Linked DNA regions of Homo sapiens: region 1 is linked to region 2. Evidence: promoter capture Hi-C in human tissues and cell types (Jung and others, 2019). All regions are on one chromosome and are shown on one strand. The core of a region is centred on a gene start or on the middle of the fragment in contact, and the rest is flanking DNA. Distances in the headings are between cores, read along the strand shown. Region 1 has its middle 37 kb from the start of KITLG. Region 2 holds the start of KITLG (KIT ligand).

Region 1 (7,533 bases), core at 1,941-4,440, 37 kb after region 2:
CACATACTGAAAGGAGCAAAACAACTTTCTGGAGTATCTTTTATAAGGACACTAATCCCATTCATGAGGCCTCCAACCTTATGATCTAATCACCCACCAAGGCCCCATCTCCTAGTCCACCATGTTAGTGACTAGGTTTTCAACATATGAATTTTGGAGGGAACAAATGTGCAAACCATAGCATGTTCCTATGTTATAAATCCCAGGGTCTCCCCAGTAAAGTCTTCTGCACAAGACTGTCTTGGCTCTTGTTGCTGCTCCCATCTCCCCACCTGAAATGTGGGATTAGGGAAACAGAAGAATCTGGTAATTGAATTAACATGATATAGAATAGGAACAATACAGCTGTGATGCAAAATGACCCTAACATTGAACTAATTTGATGAAAAAACTAATTTGATGAAATTTGTTTATTCAATAATTATTCAATAAAGTTATTATTGAACTAATTTATGAACCATGGAAACATAAACACTGTAATTTTTTTCAGAAATCTTGAGAATGACGTAGGGCTTAAATCTATGAAGGGACTGGGCTAATGCATTCTTATCTAGTTTCTATAAAGCAAGGTGACTCTACGTGACCTCTGAATTGAATTCATCTCACAATTACCCTTCTTCTATAGTAAGGGAGTTTTGGTACTGGGAAAGCCATAGTTCCTCACTATCTTTTTCCTTAGAGCCAGTTGCATCCTAGGAGGCTACTTAGGATTTCTTATACAGAGACTTCTAGTAGGTCACCCCACTGATTCATTAAACATGTGCATACAAAACTAAATCTGACCAGGGTTAAAACTCAAGCTTAATCTGGGTCCCTTGCTACCCCTATAAATACTGTGGAATTTTTAAAAATCAGTAAATTATACGTATTTTTTTTCACCAAATGGTGTTTCCTCCTTGAAATGGTCACCTACATTGCCAAAAGAATGTTTATTAAGAAGATAACATGTTGTGTTTATTAGGGATGCTGAGGAAGAGCAATTATTTGTTAGAAATAGAATAGGGTGGCTGAAGAGCTAGTGAATGTACAATCCACTTGTAAGTTCAGGTTTACTCAGACTCTGAAACCAGATGATACTTGAGACAAGATAGATATTTATCACCATTGCTGAAGCAGCTTTTGGCAGAATATACTCTCATGCTAAGACATGGACATCAGCAGGGAAGAGTAAGTTAAAAGGAGTAGGACTAAGATCCTGCCAGACAAGGAGTCAAGTGTGTTAGATAATATATCCATGGAAATTAGATAAAGCATCAGCAAGTGAGTTTTCCATGTTGGGTCAGCAGTGGTTTTCTGGTATATGTTTAACAATGAACTCTCTTGGGCAGGAGAACAGGAGTATGGTTTGAGGAGGATGTTAGGTAAGGGTAGGAAGAGGAAGAACACCTTGATTTAAATCTTGTGCCAATTTCTCTGGTGTAAATACTCCTGCTATGACCAGTTTCAAGCTACCACAGCGAGATGAACAGGCTCACATATTTTTTGAAGTTTTAACAATCCATTCTTGTGAGCCAGTGTGAATCAGCTCCAGCACACTACAAGTACAACCACTGAGGTGCATAACTCAGGCAGGAATAATGGATCAGGGATCAGGGACTTGGTCAAAGAGACTGGGTGAGAAGTTGTATGAATTCAAGCAAAGTATCCAAGTGGTATGTTCTTGTGTCCTCCACATGAAAAAGCAAGCTATGTTACTAAAAATTGTCTGAGTCATGGCCTCTCTGTTCTATCTGTTAAAGGTTAGAACCAGTCTATGTGGAGATGGATCAGAGACAGGTAGAGGCAAGTTGGAGTATTTGCCAGAGTGGGAAACACGGGGCCTAAGAGGCACTATATGGCAGTCCTGTTTTGTTTCTACTGAGTGATATGCTGGGTTTCTGGATCATTGTCAGGGGCTTGCTTCTTCTCTTTGATCTGAAGCTTCATTCCCAAACCTGCACCTAGACAGATATAGAAGAGGTAAAGACAGTCGCTGAAGGAAAGCACTTTGTACAGCAGGGTAGTACGTTGCCTGCTTCTAACTAACTTCAAGAATGAAATAATTTGTACAGAAATAGTCTTCCAATCTTCTCTCTGTCTCTCTCTCCCTCCTCCCTGCCCCCAATAAATGTTCTGCCTTCTTTGGAGCAATCTATCATTCCAAATGACATCATTTACAAATATAATATACTATTGTAAGGATATTCTTTAGTTCACAGTCTAGAATGATAGGAAGGGAAGTGTCAGTGTTTACATTTGTGAATTTGTCATACAACCCTTGCTTTATATCATTTTATTTCCTGAAAGAAATTTAAGTTCTAAATAATAGTAAAAAAATTCCGAATTACATGATGACTGTAGCTTTCATCACTTACTAAATAAATCTCTTCAATAACTGTCCCTAGGGTGCCAATTTCTTTATAAGTCTGGCCTTTGGATACAGCTTGAGTAATGACACTTGTTTTAATAATCCCTGATAATTGATTATTAGGTAAGAGAAGCCCAGGGAAGCCCACCAGAATGTCAATGAAATAGTTGAATATGGTATTTAAAGGATCTAAATTTTGTTAGAGAATGAAACAAAACACTTCTTCATTACAATATTCCTATTTAAAAATGACTTTTGTTTGTTGTAATGCAACGTTATGTGTATAATTCTGGAAATAGTGTTTTCTAAAGCTACGCATCAGCCTGATAGCATAAAAATTGTTGGCACATTTGAAAAAATAATATACATAAAATTAATTACGTAAAAACAGGGGATTTCATGGAATTGGAACTAGTTTGTAAGTGGGCTCCATGTCTCCTGTGTAGAGAAAAAAGAGATAAATAAATAAAAAATAAAAATATTAATTTAAGAGACACCCTCCCCAAGACTACTACCCATTTATTTTCTTGTTCGAGAACTGGGCTACCTCTGCTTTTTAAGGCTACCAAGCCTTCTTCAGCCTGACTGGAGCATTCAGGTCCAAGCTTGTTCTTGATAACATGCTTTGATTTGTTCCACCCCACCTGCACTTCCTAATGATAAAGGACACAAAATCTCTCTAAAGCATCCTTCTAAAAATTCTCTGGAAACCCAAGAGGTATCTCACATGTGCTTATGTGCCAACTTTATTCATTGCTTCCTGTGGGCATTTACCATTTCTTCCCTCTTTTGTTCCAGGCTTTTTCTACTAGAAACTGTGGTGTCTGCTGGGCTTTGACAGCTGTGCTGGGTACTACTGCTGCTTTTGTCAGATTCTACCACTTAACATTGGTCAGGATATAGGATTTGTTCTTCTGATGATCCTGCTCACACTAGCTTGGTGCCTTGGTCTCTTTCTGGACACCACACTCTCTCACTAACATAACGTCTCTGAAGTTCCCCATAAGGCCCTAGGGCTGCAAGGTTTCCCTTCATTATAAAGTCCAAAGTTCTCCCAAGAGACATATGACCCATAACTGTATTCTCTTGTTGAAAACATTTCTGTCTATTCATACTTCTCATGAATCCACAGGAAATGGTGGCAAGATGAAGGGCACTTTGGGTTCCCAACCATTATATACCATTTATTCCTCCCACTGTTTTTCCTAAGGGACTGAAACAGAGGCTCAGTGTCTTACTTTCCCTGGATTTTATAGGAAGCTGTCCCTAGAGTACAGACTAGAATTATGATATCTTAAGCTCTTCCTCGACTGCTTTATTTAGAATACCCCCACCCTTAACCATGTCCCAACACGATTCCCTTTTCTGCTTGATTTTCCTCCCTAACATCCATTGTTGCCTGGGATATGATATATTCTACTTAAATATTTGTTTATTGTTTGTTTTTATCACTAGAATGTAAGCAGTAGGAGGTCGGGTTTTTATCTATCTTGCTCACTGCTCTATCCCTAACACCTAGAGCCATGTCTGGCACACAGTAGGTACTTGATAGTTACTGGATACATAAATATATGAAAGAATAAATGGACAGATTTTGGAAGATAGGGTTTAGATCTGTTACTAGGGTTCAAAAATGTGTCTTTGTAGCACCAGAGTTCTCAGTTTAGTAGGTTTTCTAGAGTGAGTAGGGTTTTGAAATGATGTGTGTTATCACAATATATTGTTATGAGCGCTTGCTAACGTGTTGGCCAGATGAGGTTAGAATGCATCCTGATAGAGGTAGATGCACAGTGGGAGCACAGAGGAAGGTCTCACTGCTTATGAGGAGGTGTGGAGAGATGATGCCAGGCATGGATTTATGGAAGAGAAACTGTTTACTTTACATTCTGAAGGAGTTTTTTTGGCAAAGAAGGACACTCCAGCTGAAGGAAATGAATGGTCAAAAGCATAGATTAGGAAGATTCCAGCATTTGAGGAATATTCTGGCATTTTGGTGCAAAATGTTTGGGATTGGAGGAGGACAGAGATTCCACATAGGGATGCCTTCTAGGGCATCCTTTGCTCCAAGTGACAATGACAAGGACTGGGATAATAGCAATGGGAGGAGAGAGGAGATGAAAGAGTAAATAAATATTTGGGAGGTGGACTTCTTAGGAGTTGATGATTGACTGATGTAAAGAGTAAGTTAAGAGGAGGAGTGAGGAACGGCAATGCCATTTCTAACGTGAAGAACTGATATACTGGTTTATCCTTAACTGATATGAGTAATACATGGGGTGGCGGGAACAGGGTTGGTGGGAAAGTGAGGAGGAAGACTTCCATTTCCTGTTAGACATGCCATGCTTGAGATACTGGTGGCTATGCAGAAGGGGGTCCTTGAGCTCAGTGCAAAAGTGGGGCTGTTGATGCAGATTTGGGTGTCATTGCTGAGAGTATAGGATTTTATCAGCTCTGTTAGATAGAGGATACAAAACAAGCATAAAAGCATCCTAGGTTTCCAGAATGGAACCCTGAGAGATGTGAATATTAAAGAGAAATCTGTAAAACAGAGGTTGAATACTCACTTTCATCAGAACCAGAGGAGAAGGAAGGGAGGAGGAATCTTTGAAGAAGGAAGAAATGGTCAACCAGCAAATGCCGCCAAAGTCAAGAGGATAAAGTTAAGCAACTAGAATTTCTTGGTAATCTTTGCAAGAGCCATTTCAGTGGAATGCTGAGGGTGAGAAAGCAGGGTGAATGCTGTACACTTTATATGAATGCATAAAAGCATCCCCCATTGTACCCTCGGCCCCACCTCTCCAACCCTTCTCATGGAAACATTCTCAGTCCTGCAGAGTTTGCAATGAGGTGAATTAATTTAGCACCTTGTGCTCAAGTGAAGACTATAATGGTATTCATGAGTTTACATGATGTGACTGTCAGCCTTTTCCTCTTCCTTTAGCATCCTCACAGGTATTTTTTATATGACTAATGAATATCACTTACTGACCAACATGTATTTGAGGAGGTGAGTAAGGTCCAGGAAGTCTTCATTTCTAAAAAGGTCAAAAGTTAATGCTGCAATTACCAGTAACAATCATGCATCTTGAAGTGCCCTTAATTTAAGTTTGATACTGTGGTGGTGAGGTCATCTTCTGTCACCTATATAATAAAAAAATGCCTTGATCCTTTCATAAACATAACTTTTCAAAAGCAAAAGGGCAAAAAAGGCACAAACACTTGTGTATGTCATTGCATATAAAAGACTGAAGGGTCCATAACCAACAGTTAGCAGGAGTAACTCTGGGTAGAGGGTGAGATTAGGGGAGGGGTGAAGGGAGAAATTCACTTTTAATGTATCTTCTTCTGCACTGTTTAATGTTTAAATTTTTAAATGGGCATATATTTAGGCATTGCTTGTGTAATTCTTTGAAAGACATGGCATCTTCTTAGGAGGGAGACTGTGTTTTCCATACTTACCCTCACCCAAAATACTACATAGAGTTTATCATGCCTCTGGTTTAAACATGATTTCTACTTGTTGATGTTAATCTTAATTATGAGCCTGTTGATGAAGGGGAAAATGTGAGAGAATAACCAAGGATAGAATAAAAATGTCTATAAATACCGGGAGCAAAATCGATGCCCTCTTCAGCAGCCAGATGCCCTTTCCACTTCCCCAGTGTTGCTCGAATCACTGGGAACTCAGTAGCAGTACAGATTCCCAGGTCCCACTCTCCCAAACAGGATTCTCTGAGGAGGAGACAAAGAAACTTGCAGGTTTTAGAGAGCCCCATTGGTAATTTTTTTTTTTTTTTGAGACAAGGTCTTGCTTTATCACCCAGGTTGGGTGCAGTGGCACAATCATAGCCCACTTTAGCTTTGAACTCCTGAGCTCAAGCAATCCTCCTGCCTCAGCCTCCTGAGCAGCTGGGACTACAGTTGCACAACACCGTGCCTGAATAAATTTTAACTTTTTTTATGGAGATGGGATCTCACTATCACTGTTGATGATTCTTTCGCACGTCAGCATTTAAGGGTCACTGGCACACGTTAAAACTTGGGAATCTGGGGGCCTGAGTTTTAGTCCTGATGCTCACCATTTATGTGGCCTTGGACAAATTGCTTATTCTTTCAGAGTCATTCCCTTTGAGGATTCTCTGAAGAACTTTTTCTCCAAATCAATCTCATTATCATATTTATATTTATGCCTGGTCCTACCAAATAAAAGGAAGCCTTCAATGAAGTTGTGTTTACTGAAGTATATATAAGTTTCAAACTTTCTTTGTCTGAGCCAATCAAACCCTCAGGTACTTATTACTGAGGGAGTTCCTGTGCTAATATCATGGGTGTGAGTCATGGGGAGAACCATTGCTAGGGTGGCAAAAACACAGCAATTATAAAAATGTCTCCTGTTTCTTCCTATTGTGTAAATATTTGGATGTTCAGTGTCTGTAAAATGGCGGAGGCAGGAGATGGTATTAGTGGAGGAGACACGGGGAAGAGAGAGAGACCTGTAAACACAAATAAATTCTGTTTTTTCATATGTTAGTTGGTTGCTTGTATTTTTTCTTTTAAGAAGTGTCTGTTCATGTCCTTTGCCCAGTCTTTAATGGGATTTGTTTGTTCTTTCTCATTGAGTTGCATGAGTTCCTTGTAGATTCTGGATATTAGTCCTTTGTTGGAGGTATAATTTGCAAGTATTTTCTTCTATTCTGTAGGTTTTCTGTTTACTCTGTTAACTATTTCTTTTGCTGTGCAGAAGCTTCTTAGTTTAGTTAAGTCCCATTTGTATATTTTTGTTTTTGTTGTGGAGGCTTGCTTTGCTCCTGTTCTGGGACTCTGGGCCGGATTCCCCATCCATTGGCAACCCAGTGATCAAGGGTCAGCCTAGTGAAATGACCTTGGAGTCACGCCCTAATGTGAGAAAGCTGGAGCAAGTGGCTGGAAAATTTCAGGACAGAGATTCTCTCCTCTTCTGGCTTTTGCTCCGCCTCTAACCTAGAAAAGAAAAAAAGGAAGAAGGAGGTGATTTAGTTTGAATATGTGTCCCTGTCAAAATCTCATGTTGAAATGTAATCCCAGTGTTGGGTGGGACCTGTTAGGAAGTGATTGGATCATGGTGGGGGTGGGCATTTCTCATGAATGGTTTAGTACCATCCCCTTGGTACTGTCCTCACTGTAGTGAGTGAGTTCTCATGAGATCT
Region 2 (7,211 bases), core at 542-3,041:
GACATTAACCTTATCTGTCTCCTGTGTTCTTGTTTAAATAGGAAGGTTTAGGCTCTTTTCCTGAACTAGAAGGTAGCAGCTTCTTCCCCCAGATCTCACCACCATCCATGGGAGCAGATGCTACTATAAGAAGGAATAGGTCTCTACCCTTCTTATAATTTCGCAGAAAGCTTGTCTAAATCAAGAGATTACAATAAAACTTTTCTTTTGTTGCAAGAATCTTTAACATTTGCATTTCGACAGCACGCTGTGGTGATTCCAGGTGCGGTGCTCAATGCCTTGCCTGAAAGCTAACCTGCTTGTAAGAGAGGGGAGAGGCACATCGCGTCTTTTCTCTTAGAGAGTGCTCTAGAGACTATGCAAGCCTCTTTTAGCCAGGCAATGTCCCTTTCCCCTGCCTTTTACCACACCGGTACAAGGGGCTAGAGTCTTGCAACTTTTTGCAGGCCTAGATATCTGTTTAAAATATGATGCTAAGCAGGTCATTTGATAAAGCATTTTGAGCACATTGATGCCTTCATTCTACACCAACGATGTGTACAAACACCCCGGTTTCCTTTTTCCCCACCACTTCCACCCCTTCCACACATTTCAGGAACTGCAATCTCCAACAGAACCTCTGGGGGGTGAAAGGGCAACCCTTAGCCAACCGCGGCAGATAACACATAACAATTTCTAAGGGGGAAAGTGAGAGGAGGTAACAATCAACAATGGTGAAGAGAACTGTGGATAGGGGCACCGTGGCGGCCCTTTCTAAACGAAGAACCAGGTATTTTCTTCAAGGGAAAAAAAAATCTAATTGTCCCCCCAGGCAGCGCTTTACCCACAGTGCTTTATGTATAATGCAGAATTTAGCAGCACTGGGAATTATCTCAATCACTATCATTCAGAGGTGCCTATTTTATAAAAAGCCTTTATCCCTTTTGAAATGGAAAAAGGTGCGTGCATTGTGGAGGTACTAGAGCTCTTTAGAGCCCACACAGAGCTGCAAACTAGGCAGACACCGCCGAGAGCCAAGTTTCCCGGGCAGGCGGGCAGGTTCCCGCCCCGCCGAGAGCTGCCGCTTAGGAGTTCCGCGTTGGCTTCGCTCCCGCGGCTGCACCCGCGTTCGCGCCGCTCCTGGTGCCCGGCGCCCACCTCGGGGCTACACAAATAAATCTGAGTGAGAGAGCTAGTGAGGGTGGCGCGTGGGGTGCTGTTTCATAATCTCCTGGAATCCACGGGAAAACCGTCTCCTATGCAAAGACATGCCTTCCCGTGATAACTTAACATTCCATGGCCCAAAAGCCAATCTTTCCACCAGACGGGAATTACGGTTTCCGACTGACAGCTCAAAACTTAACTGCTGAGGCTCCAAACTTGACACTGGCTCCCTCTCAGCACTCCCACTCCTTTTCTCCCTGGCTCACCCGGCTCGGCTCGGGATCACACACCACGCCGGCCTCCCCCGCATCCTCTTGTCTCACCCGGCAGGCACAGCCCTGCACGCCCCAGCTGCAAGTCCCAGGGAGCGCCGGCTTCCCCGGGGCACCGGGCGCGATTTTTCCTGGAGAGCCTGGGAGCTCCCGGGCGCGCCCTACTCACTTGTGTCTTCTTCATAAGGAAAGGCAGCGCTGCGATCCAGCACAAACAGTGGTGTGGCGACTCCGTTTAGCTGTTCTGGAGCTCCAGCATATTGCACGAACAGCGGCGGCAGATAGTCCACGCATTGGGTAGCCCGAGCGCAGCGCCCTCTCCACTGTCCCTGCTTCCCGCAGCGCTTCTAGTCTCGGCGCGAGGCGGCGAGCGAAGCCCGGCTGCTGAGCCGCCGGCGCTTTTATACAGTTCCCGCCCGCCTGCTCCGGACACGCCTCCTTCCCTTCCGGAGCCCGGGGTAGGCGAGAAGCAGGCAAGGGCGCGGAGGGAAGAATCGGGAGGGCGGCCAGAGCACGGTAAATGCCCCAGAAGTTTGGCAGATTAGGCCAACCTTGTCCGCTCGCCTGGGGGCCCCGGACCTGCACTGGCGGGAGACCGCGAAGGCGCGGGGACGCAGAGGGCGAAGCTTGGTACCCTGCAGCTACTGCTCGCGAGGAGTCCCAGCTTACCCTCCCGGATCCGCTGGGGCTCACCTGGCACCCCCGGGGACAGACGAAATACCTCGCGCGCCAGAGAGGGCTCGGAGCTCCCTCTGTTATACAAAGTCGGAGAGGGAGAGGAGTCCGGGAGGTTCGGAGCAAAGAATTCACCCTGCCTGCCTTAGAGAAATAAAGTTTAATTGCGATCTGTAGTTAGGCCATTGTCCTATCACCTCTATTTTTTAAAAAAAACAATTACTTTAGTGAATGAATATTTAATAATTACAAGAATTGTTGACTCAAGGTTAAGTATTGCAAGGGGAGACGCTTCATTTGGAATGGTTTGTTACTGTGTCTTTAGAAATTAAGATTGAAAGAGAAGCGATAGATTATTAAACTACAGGTCGCCAACACAGCAAGGCTTTGAAAGTTGTACTTTTTTGAACGGAAAGATAATGCAACCACAATAATAATAGCTAACATCATTATGTGATGCACTTATTCATGTGCCAGGTGCCAGACTAAGAACTTCGCATAGATTATCTCATTAAATTCTTTCATCAAATCTATTAGTGTAGATCTTATTATTTTATTCCCATTTTATGGACGATGAAATACAAGGTTAATTTTCTTGACCAACCATATCTAGTAAATGGCAGAGCTCTAATTTAAACCTGGAGCTCCAGCTGTACAGTCTTAAAAAATACTTCAAATATTTTATTGATTCTCCAGAATGTGTCTGTTTTTGTTTGTATAACTGGAGAACATTCCAAAGCATTTCATTAATTTTTTAAAAGAAAATATTAGCTGAACATTAACATCAGTGATCTTTAAAAGAAAGAATAATGTATGAGTTTAGGAATTAGTTATTTTAATAATAGAGTAGGAGTCCAAATTTGCTTTAATTAGTTCCGGTGCGTTTGTTAAACATGAATATGCCAAACCTGTAATCAGGGCGAAGCTTGTTTATTTCACTCCAGATGTGCTGACTTCTGTGATTTCCCCAAATGTGGGAAACTCGACTGCATAATTTAGTGGGGGACTGCGTTCTCACTTTCTCATGTTAGAAAAAATATGTATAGACAGCACATCAATCATGATTCCAAGTTGATAGTTGCTTAGAAAGATTTTTATACATTAGGTACTCTTAGTACAAATATATCGAACATCAAATATCAAAATGAGCTTAATTTGGATACTGGAGGCATAGCAAATGATTGTTTTTTTTTTCTTCAAGATTTATTTTTATTTTTTATTTTTTAGATGGAATCTCGCTCTGTCTCCCAGGCTGAAGTGCAATGACGCAATCTCGGCTCAATGCAGCCTCCGCCTCCCAGGTTTAAGCGATTATCCCGCCTCAGTCTCACAAGTAGCTGGGATTACAGGTGCCCACCACCACGCCCAGGTATTTTTGTTGTTGTTGTTGTTGTTTTAGTAGAGACGGGGTTTCACCATTTTGGCCAGGCTGGTCTCGAACTCCTGACCTCAGGTGATCCGCCTGCCTCAGCCTTCCAAAGTGCTGGGATTACAGGCGTGAGCCACTGCACCCGGCCCCTTTAAGGCTTTTTTGAAGTGGAGAATTTTATTTTTTTTCTCCAGCTTTATTAAGTTATATTTGACAAAAATAGTATCTATTTACCACGTACAATGTGATGTTCTGCTTATGTATACATTGTGAAATTATTAAATCAGGCTAAATAGTATATCCATCACCTCACATACTCATCATTTTTGGGAGCTGAGAGTATTTAACATCTACTCTTTGTAGTTTTGGAGTACCTCAGTATATTCAGGGGATTGATTCCTAGACCTTTCAGGTATACCAAAATCTACATATATTCAAGTCCCACAGTCAACCCTGCAGAACGTGCAGACACAAAAGTCAGCCCTGCTTATACATGGGTTTTACATCTCTAGAACACTGTATTTTCCATCTGAGTTTGAAAAAAAAATTGCATATAAGTAGACCCATACAGTTCAAACCTGTGTTGTTCAAGGGTTAACTGTATACAGTACATTAACTGTAGTTATCATGCTGTACAATAAATCTCCAGAACTTATTCATCCTGTCTAACTAAAACTTTGTACCCCTTTACCACCATTTTCCCCCCAAGAAAAGAAATATTTAGTGTCAATATAAACTCACTTTCATGTATAACATTAAGTAAATAACAAGTAGTACTAAAGGAGGACAGATACGACAAAAATAATCAAAATGGTATGAGAGTTACTGAAGCCTGGGAATCATAAATCTAACCATACGGATTTTATGAGACCAATAGAAAGGAATGGCCTAATTTGTTGTACCAGGTTTAAAGAAACAAGGCAGTGTTCCTAACAGAAATTCAGTTCAATTTCTTTTCATTCAACTCAATAATACATGCTACGTTCATCTCCTACAATGCATTCTCATTCTCCTCTCTCTTTCTCCCTCTTTCCATTTTTTTTCCCTCTCAGTTCTGTCTCCTCCTCCCACCTCCACCATTCCCTGGTTCTAGCTTTCTTAATATCACTGACTTTCTCATACGTAACTGTATCTTTTGTTTCCCTCATACTGCTGCATTACAGTTTTGTTGTGTAATAATGTTACTTGAATCAAGAGAATGTCGAAGCAAATATCCAAGGGATTAGAAAGAGCTAATATGCAAATGAAAGATTTTGGGTAGGCTTATATGGAAGTCACAAATGGGTCAGAATGACTGAGATCTCTCCTTAAGACTGGCTTTTGATAGGGGATGCAGGCCAGCATTCAGTTGATTCGCAGAAGAAAAACCAAGGAGTTCCTTTAAACTGAACAAGAGGCAGGGCTATGTCCCAGGTGGACAGGAGGGATGGGGGATGTTTTCTTATGGAAATAGCAGGCTACCATTATACAACTCAGGGAATTCAACATTTAACACACTGGGTAGAAAGTTATTTCATGATTATCTAATTTTTACTTGAATACTTTCAATACTATTCGTCACTCATGCTATTATTGATTAATCCAATTTTGAAAAGCTTTTTTCCTGAGCTTTATCGTTTTTGTTGTTAAGAGGCAGGTGTAATTTACCAAATAAGTCTTATCTTGCTTTGTGCATGTGAAATATCTCTTGTTCATTCACTATTTTGTGGATATCTTCTTTTAGACACACATATTGTTTTCAATATTTTTCTTTTAAAAAATGTCTCTCACAAACTGAAACTTATTGCCTGACCAAGCCAGACCGGAGACAGACTGTCTATATCTGTCTTTGAGTGACTAGAGGAGGGGGAAAAGGAGAAGAATGCCTCTTTGATCATGAAATTTCCTCTGCTGAAAGCTCTTTGGTGGCTTGCCATTGCTCTTGGAATAAAGAAATTAGCACCTTAGCAAAGCCTTCAAGGCCTCCAGGATCTCGCCTCTCCCTCCTTCTCCAAGGTCAATTCATTATGTGCTCCCTTTTTTCCAGGGCCAAGGCCCTTCTGTCCTCATAATTCTCACCTCAGGCCATTTGCAAATACCCTCCTTTCTGCCTCTGTTTGGACCACTTTGTTTCACCCTATCATTGTGCCCAGTAAGTATGCATTTATCATGTAGATCTCAACTCAGTATTCCCTATATTTTCTTCCTCAGGGAGGTTTTCCCTGATCTCTTTGCTTTGTTCAATTCTCCTCTTACTATAAAGTCGAGCATGAATTACCTATTTTTTATAAAACAACTGCAGTTTTGTATTTGTTTGTTTGACTATTTGGTTAAAGTAATTATGACTGCCCTTGCTCATTATTTTATTGTCAATATCTGTCACAGGGGAAAGAACAGAGCGAATCCCTTAAATATTGGTCAATTAGGTTGCTGTTGCCCATATAAGCCAGGAATTGGTCTAAGCCCTTAGTTTATATTCTGTCAATAACTTCTTATGACAATCATGTAAGAGAGGTAATTTTTAACTTTTCTACTTGATAAATAAGGAAACTGAGGATCAAAGAAGTATGGTGATTTGCTCAAGATCCCTCAATTGATAAATGGGAAAACCATGATCTAACCTAGACATATGGACTGTGGTTAGGAATTTTTTTTTGTCGGGGGGGGACAGAGCTTCACTCTTGTTGCCCAATCTGGAGTGCAATGGCATGATCTTGGCTCACGCAACCTCTGCCTCCCAGGTTCAAGCGATTCTCCTGCCTCAGCCTCCTGAGTAGCTGGGATTACAGACATGCACCACCATGCCTGACTAAGTTTTGTATTTTCAGTAGAGACGGGGTTTCTCCATGTTGCTCAGGCTGGTCTCGAACTGCTGACCTCAGGTGATCTGCCCGCCTTGGCCTCCCAAAGTGCTGGAATTACATGCGTGAGCCACCATGCCCGGCTTAGATTTTTTTTTTTTTTATTTGCTTAGCACACTTTCCTGTCACTCTTCTTCCATTATTAGCACTCACTTTCACTTAGAGAATTCAGACTATTCCTTATCTTTCAAGAGAGACTGTCATTCACATGGTTCTGTTTTCCCACCTCCTTCCACTATCGGAGATAGGCTTAGTACCCTGATCTGTCCAGTCCTGATTGGTGGAGGAATGGGTACATCACATGAGATGGGCCAATCAGAATCCACTGTGGGACTTTTGTGCTTGAGCTAATGGGGAACAGTATCTCCTTCCTATGGAGTTTCCAAACTACAAGAATGTGAAGTTCTCTTTGCCTATGTGAAGGCGTGTGATTTTACCAGCCTTGAAAATGATGAAATACATAATAAGTTCACAGAGTATTCTTTGAATAATATAATTTTTCTAGTATTCAGAAAACAACATCAAACTGATTTGTCTAGTTCAGGGTTTTTCTTGATTATGTAATAGGGGTTAGCAATATTGTGAAGGATAGTGTATTAGTCCACTTCCATTACTATAAAGGGATGCCTAAGACTGGGTAATTTTTAAGAAAAGAGGTTTATTTGGTTCACAGTTCTGCAGGATGTACAGGAAGGATGGTGCTGACATTTGCTTCTGGTGAGGCCTTAGGAAGCTTCCAATCCTGGAGGAGGGTAAAGCAGAAGCAGGTGTGTCAGATGGCAGGAGAGAGCACAACAGAGTGAGTGGGGGAGGAAGTCCCAGATCTTAAACAACCAGATCTTTCATGAACTACCTGAGCAAGAACTCACTCATTACCAAAGGCATGGTGCTAAACCATTCATGAGGGGACCA

Evidence for each region. Contacts are between HindIII fragments. The study calls those that stand out against the background at their distance.
Region 1: a fragment that was not itself captured here is called in contact with the fragment with the promoter of KITLG in region 2 in 1 of the 25 tissues and cell types used here (pancreas).

Annotation. Positions count from the first base shown.
Region 1 is chr12:88,614,121-88,621,653 of GRCh38, forward strand. No RefSeq gene overlaps it. Among named protein-coding and RNA genes, the nearest start is that of KITLG, 37 kb to the left of the region's middle. The HindIII fragment of the contact is 3,661 bases long and covers 1,361-5,021 here.
Region 2 is chr12:88,578,680-88,585,890 of GRCh38, forward strand. KITLG (KIT ligand) reads right to left here and starts at 1,792. Exons shown (of 10, transcript NM_000899.5): 1 at 1,585-1,792. The coding sequence starts at 1,599. LOC105369885 (a long non-coding RNA gene) reads left to right here and starts at 1,857. Exons shown (of 4, transcript NR_188177.1): 1 at 1,857-1,931; 2 at 3,318-3,459. It also overlaps the pseudogene RNU1-117P. The HindIII fragment of the contact is 2,929 bases long and covers 1,106-4,034 here.